Linked DNA regions of Homo sapiens: region 1 is linked to region 2. The links are contacts of gene promoters, found by promoter capture Hi-C in human tissues and cell types (Jung and others, 2019). All regions are on one chromosome and are shown on one strand. Each heading gives the region's core, a stretch centred on a gene start or on the middle of the fragment in contact. The rest is flanking DNA. Distances are from core to core; before and after follow the strand shown. Region 1 holds the start of LINC02703 (long intergenic non-protein coding RNA 2703). Region 2 holds the start of CADM1 (cell adhesion molecule 1).

What was found. Contacts are between HindIII fragments. The study calls those that stand out against the background at their distance.
Region 1: a fragment that was not itself captured here is called in contact with the fragment with the promoter of CADM1 in region 2 in 1 of the 25 tissues and cell types used here (thymus).

What each region holds. Positions count from the first base shown.
Region 1 is chr11:115,916,046-115,920,291 of GRCh38, reverse strand. It overlaps LINC02703 (long intergenic non-protein coding RNA 2703), which reads right to left and starts at 656. Exons shown (of 7, transcript NR_187258.1): 1 at 1-656. RefSeq lists an enhancer at 811-960. The HindIII fragment of the contact is 4,128 bases long and covers 568-4,246 here.
Region 2 is chr11:115,501,784-115,506,074 of GRCh38, reverse strand. CADM1 (cell adhesion molecule 1) reads left to right here and starts at 1,660. Exons shown (of 12, transcript NM_001301043.2): 1 at 1,660-1,804. The coding sequence starts at 1,681. RefSeq lists a silencer at 1,475-1,634. The HindIII fragment of the contact is 7,329 bases long and covers 1-4,291 here.

The sequences.
Region 1 (4,246 bases), core at 1,382-3,881, 410 kb before region 2:
ATTCTCCCATGCCTAACCCTGCCTATGTTCTCTCCCAGAACTCTGGACAGAGAGATACAATTCAGCCAATTAGAGCACTGCTTAATTGCTAGCATTTTGCAAACCACTGCCTTATTGGCTAGAAGGGCAATAATATCAAAAAGACCTCCTGGTGACTTCACAGTTGGGAAAAATAGATGCTCCTAAGTCATCCCTTCTACCCTCCTCTAAGTAACAAACACCTTTCTCCCCTGGGGAAATTTCTTCTTTCATTTGCTGTAAAGTGACTTCTGCTGAAGTGTGTGTTTTTGAAGTGGAAAATTGAAAGCACATGATTCATTCCAAAAGCAAACTGTTAGTTCACAGCTGAGAAATCACTTTGCTATTGGTCCAAAGAGTTGCTTCTCAGGTTTGAGGGGGGCAAATTTGTAACTCCACTTTCACCCTCTCCGACTACAGAACCACTCCATTGACAGACCAAGAGCCAGAGAAATGAAGATCGAAATAGCACCTTTATTCCTGATAATGTTAAATTAGAGGGGGTGGCTTGTGTCAGACCAGAATGACCTGCTACTCTACCCCTGAGCTGATCTGATCCCCCAAAACTTCAGGCTTCCCCAGTCGGGGCAGAGCCAGCCCCACGAATCTTACCACATGGCTGACAGCAGAGCTTGTGTGTTCTCCCAGGGCAGGCATATACCAAAAGAGAGGGAGAGGGAGGGGAAGAGAGTGAGTCATACATAAACTCAAGTGACAAATCACTCCTAGCTGGGTCAAAAAGGGAGTAGAGAGGGGCCAAGTGTGTGGGGTCAGGGAAGTCCCTCTATATGAAAACTAGAGAAGGAAGGGGATAAAAATTCCCCAGATTTTTGTTATCTTAACCAGCTGGGCTTAATGTTTAACCCCTGGACAACCAGGTATGTGGTCATCTGGCTCCAGGAGGGGATGAGCTAACTATCTGAGCAGGAGGTCGCTCCCCCAGCATCAACTTCTGTTCCTTCCTGTGCCTTCCTGGGACCATCCTAAGACACTGTTGATTTCACTTCCATAAGCCTCTGAGATGAGCCAGAACAGTGTGTTAATAAAATCCAGTCCAAGGCTATGTTGTGTCTAAGACTGCAAGTTCAGAGCCTGTTCTATTTCCAATCCAAATTGATGTCCAGCCACATGGACCACTAACCTCATCAGAGGTTCTGTAATGAGGTTTAATAGCAGAGTGAAGATACTTCAATAATAAAATGCATAAAGAGCTAATAAAAAATGCATAAAGATTTCTTCAATAATAAATGGGAAAATAAGATGTCCCAAATTTGGATATAAACCCTTCCCATTATCAAATTCCTAGGGAAAAATTTAGAGATTAAAATCCCAAAGAGATTAAAGTCCAAAATCAAAGTATTTAGCCCTTGCGAATTAAAGCCCAAAGAAAGTCCAAATTGCCCAAGTTACATTTAAGTTTAAAGCAGTGGAGATCCTCCCCAGTTCCCTACTCTGCTCAGTCTCAGGCAGCAGCACTCTTGGTGTCTGAGCAGAGGGAGGAACTCCGTGAGCAGCTGGATCCTGAGTTGGCTTCCACTGGGGTGTATGTGTGTACCTCCTCAGAACCTCAGAAATGAGATCATTCAACTCCAAGCCTCTCATGCACTCCCTTTTTTAACAGCCCAAATAATTAATAGCACATTAAAGCTTATCAAAGCTCTCTCCTGACACCAATAAAATTTAGAAAACCAGGCATTCTGAAGCCCCTACAGCAGTTGTCCCAGGCAAAATTATGTGCCCAGCCCCAGTGCTCAGTTTTGCCAGAGACCATAGCAGAGCATCCTGGTACCTGAGGGAAGCAGGAAGCCAGAGATGGTCCCGGTCCAGCCCTAACAGGTTCCCATCAGTGCCTGCCAGTATCCCAGAGTCCATGACCTTTACCCATCAATCACAGGGTTATTCCTGGCACTGTTTTATTAATGCCCTGTTTCTCCCTCCATGGAGAACACCACCATATCCCCACATGCCTGGACTCTCCTCTGCTGGAATTGGCCTCTCCCTGCTGGCACCTCCCAGGCCAGGGCTCAGCACCTGAAATGGCAGAATATTGGCTGCTCCAGCAAGGAGCCAGACTGGGATGGAAATTTCAAAGGAAATATCCAGAAACTGGTTTCACAGCTCAAAACCCTCACTCTTGTCAAGGGTATTAAAAAAATAAGTGTGTGGGAGGTTGACAGGAAGGTATTTGTGAAGAGGGCTTCTTTAGAGACAGGTGAGCTGTGAGTTCCACCTCCCTAAGGGGAGAGGCAGGTGTAACTGTACCTTATCTCCAGTCTGCTAGGGGGTCTTCAATGGGACCACTCAGACAGCAGAGTGTATGTCCCCTGTAGTGTGGGAGAATGAGTGCCTGACATGTGACCTTCACCTGTAAAATCTGGGTGACAGAAGGGAGGAAAGCAGAGGAGGTGGCACATGGGTGAGTTGCTCTCCCAGTATCTGCTCAGGCAAAGATGCCTAAGTGTTTCCTAGGGTTTTCATATGGGCTTTGCAAGCAAGAGAGCTGGGATGGTACAAAGTTAGGCCCTGCCCACTGGGCCGCATGCAGGAACAATGGGACCTCTGCCGATACAAGCTGACCATTCAACCCCTGCCCTGTTGCAGGCACTGGCTGGGGAGAGAGAAACCAGCTATAACTTTGTATGAAGTTGGAAGCTTTGACCATTACATGGGATCAGGCATTCTAAATATGAGTTCAATCTAGATATGATTTCAGGTATCATTGAACATTTTATTTCCCCCAAAATATTCCTAAAGGTCATGGATCTTTCCATGTACATATTTGGGGTTAGTAGAACTTTCCTCCTTAAGTAAATGTAAATAGTGGGAAATCAAGAAAGTTGCTTTGTGATTTCATTTCAAGCTTTTTCAAAGAACAGGTCACAGTGGCATAGCACTCTTACAGATTCTTCTTTACTTAACTTGCAGCATGGTTATCTGTGGACACATCTCATCTCTGGCCAGTAGACTGTAAGCTTCTTGTAGACAGGTGTCTTCTTTATCGATTACAACTCCTTTCTGAATGTTTGGAACATGGCATGTATTCAGTAAATATCTGAGGATAAAACGAAAACAGAAAGGAAGGGAGGATGGGAGAGACAGAGAGAGTGACAGAGAGAGAGAGAGAGAGAGAGAGAGAGAAATGAGAGAGTCAGAGCATCCGTGAGACTCTTGTGCAGCAAAGATCAGTTCATCAATAGAACCAGAGTACTATGGGGCTAGAAATTGATGGGCATCTTCCCCACATGCTGCCATGTATTTTTTGTCTTTGAAGCTTTTGCCACAGATTACCCTCTGGTCCAGAACTGCACATAGCCACTCACTGCTGGCCATTAGTCACAGGTCAGATGAGCAGAAATGCTGCTGGGCTAGTCTAGAGATTGCTGGCTAGGAGTCCAGAGTTCCTGGTACTGGGTCTGGGCATTCATGCCCGGAACTCTTCATTGCCTCATCTAGTAAGTGGGGATGGCAATGTCTCCTCTGCTAAGCGGTCAGGGTTATTATGTAGAGTATTTGGAAAGAGCAGGTTTCAAAAGTGATTGCCAGGTGCTGGCACCTGCCCCAGATTTCAGCTGCCCTTTGAGAGGCTGTCATAACCCACATAGGCTGGGCCCTGGGGGCTTCCCTCTCAGGCTGGGATCAGAACACTACAATGTAGACAGCTTAGGAGATCCTGGGCCGGGCCCTTCCTCTCTTCATGACTGCAGCCCTCCCCATTTCGCCTGCTCTCCTGAGGACTAAAGGGTTAATGAGTAGGAAAATAAGAGAGATTTTAGTGCCTGCTCTGTCTTTGCAATGCTGCCTTTTCCCTCTTTGACACTTTGCCTTCACAGTCCATTCTATAAAACGGGCTCCGAATGTGCACTGATGTTGTCCTGCTGCAGTTAGTGATGAAGCCACATCAGAGCCTCTCTTGATGCTGCTTCTCTAAACTGTGGTGTGCATATGAGACAGAGACAAAGAAAGAAAAAGAAAAGGGAGGAGGAGGAGGAGGAGGAGGAGGAGGAGCGAGGGGGTAACAGGGAGGGAGGAAAATAAAGAGAGGGAGGGAGAGGAAAAAGAGGGAGACTTACCATCTCTCTGTATTTTTAATTACATAAATAATACATGTTCATTGTAAGAAGTCCCATAATAAAGGGATGTGTTTTTAAGTGAATGGTCTCACCTTACCTCTCTCCTTCTATCTTGAAGTAAGTCTGGGGATCTCCCTGAAATCTTATGAACTCCAACG
Region 2 (4,291 bases), core at 411-2,910:
TTTCCCCACTTCTGAAGGACTGCCTGCAGTTCATGCATCGGGGCCTGTAATTACAGAGCAGAATATCCAGGGCTGTGAAGACCGGGCAGTCTCGAAATTAGTTTATGCATAATGGATAATAGGAGGCTGTTTTTAAGTGTAACTCATTTGGTGGGTTGGCAGATCATGACTTCCTTTTTGATATGTATTATTTATTTATTTTATAGCAAGATGAGGACAGAAGGCTGGGGAAGTCATTTGGCGCAGCTCTTCTAGACTATAGCTCAGACTTAGCAATTTACATTCAGTAATCTCTTGGTCATTTAGCCACAGATAATTTGTCATGGTTTGTTTTAGCTGTTGTGATATTGATATTTATTATGCAAATTGTATTTCCTACATCTTATTGTTCTGCATTCTATGAATACTTAAATTATTATAAACCTTTACACTTAATATGGCTCGTCCTTCAATTTGATGCTTGAGCAACAGAGGGTCAGAGCGCACACGATCTTCTAGAGGGGAAGAAAATAAGTAATTAAAAAGCAGACAAACAAGAGAGCCGGCTGCCTGGCTGAAAAGAAAGCAAAGAGAATTTCGGGGAGGGAGAGTGAGTCCGGAGATGCAAGTCGCTTTAGCAGGAGAGGCTCTCCCAGAGACAGGGGAAGCTCGGAGCACCTGTTGGTCCCCAGCTTCCTTAGGAAGGGCTGGGGGCGCAGAGGAGGAGTGAGAGGGTTTGAGCCCCGAAGGAGGAACACGGCAGACCCTGCCTTCACCACACTCCCTCTCCCCAACTCCCACCACCCCCGCTCTTCACCTGAAGCCTTGACTAATTTTTTCCGTTGTTGTGTAATCTTAAATATCTAATATTACAAATATTTCACACATATATTCAACACACACCTATATATTAAAACCAGGGAGGAGACCCTCGACAAGCGGAGGAGCCTGAGCATACCCTCCTCGATCTACCTTTCCCGAGATTCTGCCGCAAAAAGACCGACTGGAAAATCTCAGAACCCGACTCTACGGCTGCCTTCTCCAACTATCCCCGAGTCTACCGCTAGGCTGTTGAGCGGGCTCTCCCGCTCCGCCGGACGTGCAAAGCACGCATGCACTTCTCCCAGATTGTTTTGTCAATCCGGGGACCTGCCTTCTTACTCTCCACTCCCGCACAGCCCCCGTTCCCAAAGATCTATTCCTTCGGTGCAAGGTGAGTGACGGAAATTTGCAACGTCTGGTTCGCTAGGCCAGATGCACTCGGTGTGCGGGACAGAGGACCCTCTTAAGGGAGATTCTCCAGTCGTCGGTCTGATACAGCGATTGCTATAAACATTCCTAATAAAGGTGTACAAGAAGCTAGACCCGCCCCCTGGAGCCCGAGTCCTTGCACGCCAGGCGCCCGGGAGAACACTTTTTCCTTGATCCGGGGAAAGCAAAACCCGAATTTTAACATAAACATATTTGCATACGCCCCTCCCCTTGGCCCCGCCCCTAGGTGGCGCGGGCGCGCCGCCGAACGCCAGCGCCAGGGGGCGGGGTGGGGGAGGGAGCGAGGCCCTCCGAGAGCCGGGTTGGGCTCGCGGCGCTGTGATTGGTCTGCCCGGACTCCGCCTCCAGCGCATGTCATTAGCATCTCATTAGCTGTCCGCTCGGGCTCCGGAGGCAGCCAACGCCGCCAGTCTGAGGCAGGTGCCCGACATGGCGAGTGTAGTGCTGCCGAGCGGATCCCAGTGTGCGGCGGCAGCGGCGGCGGCGGCGCCTCCCGGGCTCCGGCTCCGGCTTCTGCTGTTGCTCTTCTCCGCCGCGGCACTGATCCCCACAGGTAGGTGTGGGCACCGACCGGTTGGCCCCTAAATCTCCGAAGGCACCCCAGTAGCCTTGGCCACAGAGGGGGGAAACGTTTCCATGACAACCTCCCCCCACTTCCTACATCCGAAGCGGAGGGAGTGTGGAGAGGAAACTCAGGGCTGAGAGGGAAGGGGCTGAGGGCATCTGTGAGCCCCTTCTCCCCTGCCCGGCTAAGTGTGAATGAGAGTCCCCAGGGATGGCTGCACCCACACCTTCTCTCCCCGGCTTGGCGCGGGGTGCAGAGTGGAGTGAGAATGGGGGGCCCGGGGGCTGTAAAGCATGGGGGAAGGGGATGGTTCAAAGACAACCTCAACCCTTCCGGACCCTTCTAAACTCGCCGTTCTCCCCGTAACTTGCAGGTCCTCCCACCTCCCAGGGCTGTCCATTCGCCCCCACCTCTCCAGAGGGCCCCCCCAGTTCTCCATCCCCGAAGCCTCCTGGTGGCTGACTCCCAGCCGCCCGCGGCGTGATTTCTCCCCGGTCCCCAGGACATCCCCAGACTTGTCTGATCTCCCCTGCCCCTTCCCCCAACGCGCTCTGCCTTTCTCCCCTGTCCCCAAACTGCACGCCTCTCGTGTTTCCCTCCGGCCGTTCGCAGCCCTCCGCCCCCTCGGCTCTGCTGCGGGTCTTTTTGGCCCGGCTCCAGGCGGGGAAAGTTCCCCGGCCCGGCCCCGCGGGGGGGGCGGCCGCTGTCGCCGCCTCTGCGGGAAGGCGCCGGGAGCCCGCAGCCCGCCCGCCCCACAGCGTCCTCTGCCACGAGTGGGGACACGGGATTTCCCGGCTGCCCGTTCTTTCGGCGGCCCGAGGGTGGCGGAGGGGGCGTCGCGGCCTCTGCGGCCAGGCGGGCACCCTGCGGGCCTCCGCGCGCTCCCTGCGTGAAGAGCAGTCTTGGGAATTTGCCCAGGGGCGGCTCTGCACGCCCGGTGCCTTCCCTGAAGACACCGAGCACTCGGCTGGAGCCCGATGTGTGGCTGCCCGTGTGCCGGGCGCGTTGGCGCGGTCGGGAAAGAAGAGGGCAGTGTTTGCTTTTGCTAACAAAAGGGAGCCGGAGCTCTTCCTCAGCGGAGAGGCCGGCTGTGCTGCACCCAGCCTCCCTTCCCGCCACCTCGCCGCGCTTGGCAGCCGCGCGGCGTCCTCTGGCCCCTGCTGCAGGCTCCAGGCGGGCGCCGGGACCGAGTGGCACGGGGCCGCGGGGTGCGAGCGGCGATGCAGGAGGGGATGCAGCAGGGCTCTGAGCCTGCAAAGCCCCTCCTTGCAGCTCCAGAGCTGCAGGACCCGGGAGCAACAAGTGGCGGAGGACGCCGAGAGCTCAGCCCCCACCTGCGGAGCCCCAGGCCCGGGCGGGCACAGCGTTGGGGCCACGGTGCTGCTTCAGGGGCGCCTCTCCGCTTGGGCTGTGCCTTTTGTTTACACGCTAGAGGACACACAGTTATGTAAACACCGCAGGAGACACGCTGTAGGAGACGGGGGATGTGTGGGGGTGCTAGCTTGAGATTTGGGGGACGCCGGGTTGGCTGCTTGCCCCCAAAATAGGCTTGCAAAGGAGCTCGGCTTGGGAAACCTATTGGGGGGCGTCTGGCAGCAGCGTCAATTCCAGCGCTGAGGGTTTTTTTCCTCCATGCCACTGTCTCCGGATGTTGTTTATGTGTTTTTCCTCTGTGAATTCTTAATTTATGAGTTACGAGATAATTGGGTTCAGCCGATGCCGGTGTGGTTACAACTTCATTTCAGGTGATGCCTCTGACTGGATGGGTTCAATAAAATGTTCCTGAAAGAGATCCCTCGTGCTGCTGCATTGTAAAAAGCGCCAGTGTCAGTTAAACGTGAGCGTGAGTAAAGGCTCGGTAACTGGCGCATAATAGAGGCAACAATAGACTTGTATTGGCTGCAAAAAAAAAAAAAAAAAAAAAAAAAAAAGCCGGGGGGCGGTGGAAAGCTGTGGTCGGGGATATTGCTTTTTGACTAAAAATGGGAGTCGTGCAATGACGCTTGGCAGCAGAAGTAGGATTAGATTATGCCTCCCCTGTCAAGACTGCTCATTGAAGGCACCGGGTAGTAGCAACGGTACTATATTTGTAACTATCTCGCGGTGAGAAGTTGCCTTCCCTGCGAGGGATATATGCTGACTTAGGAGCGGTCTGGAACTCAACCGTGCATGTCAAAGCTACATGAAAATTCTGTTGCCAGTTACCATGGAAGCAGCTTCTTGCTCTTGTGTACATCCCTGTTTGTATGCTGGTTATCAGATTGTGTTCAAATTAGAAAGTAATTGGGTATGATTTGTAGTGAGGAGATGAGATGACTTTCTTAATTTTTTTCTCTTAATGCATATATATATATTTCGTGGTGAGTTTGAGAGGAGGTCTTGGCTCATTCCGGGGTCCCATACCCCAGGGGTAAATTTCAGGTGGGCACCAAGGGACTTTTCCTCCTCAGTTCTGTTTAAGCTTTCTCAGAGGCC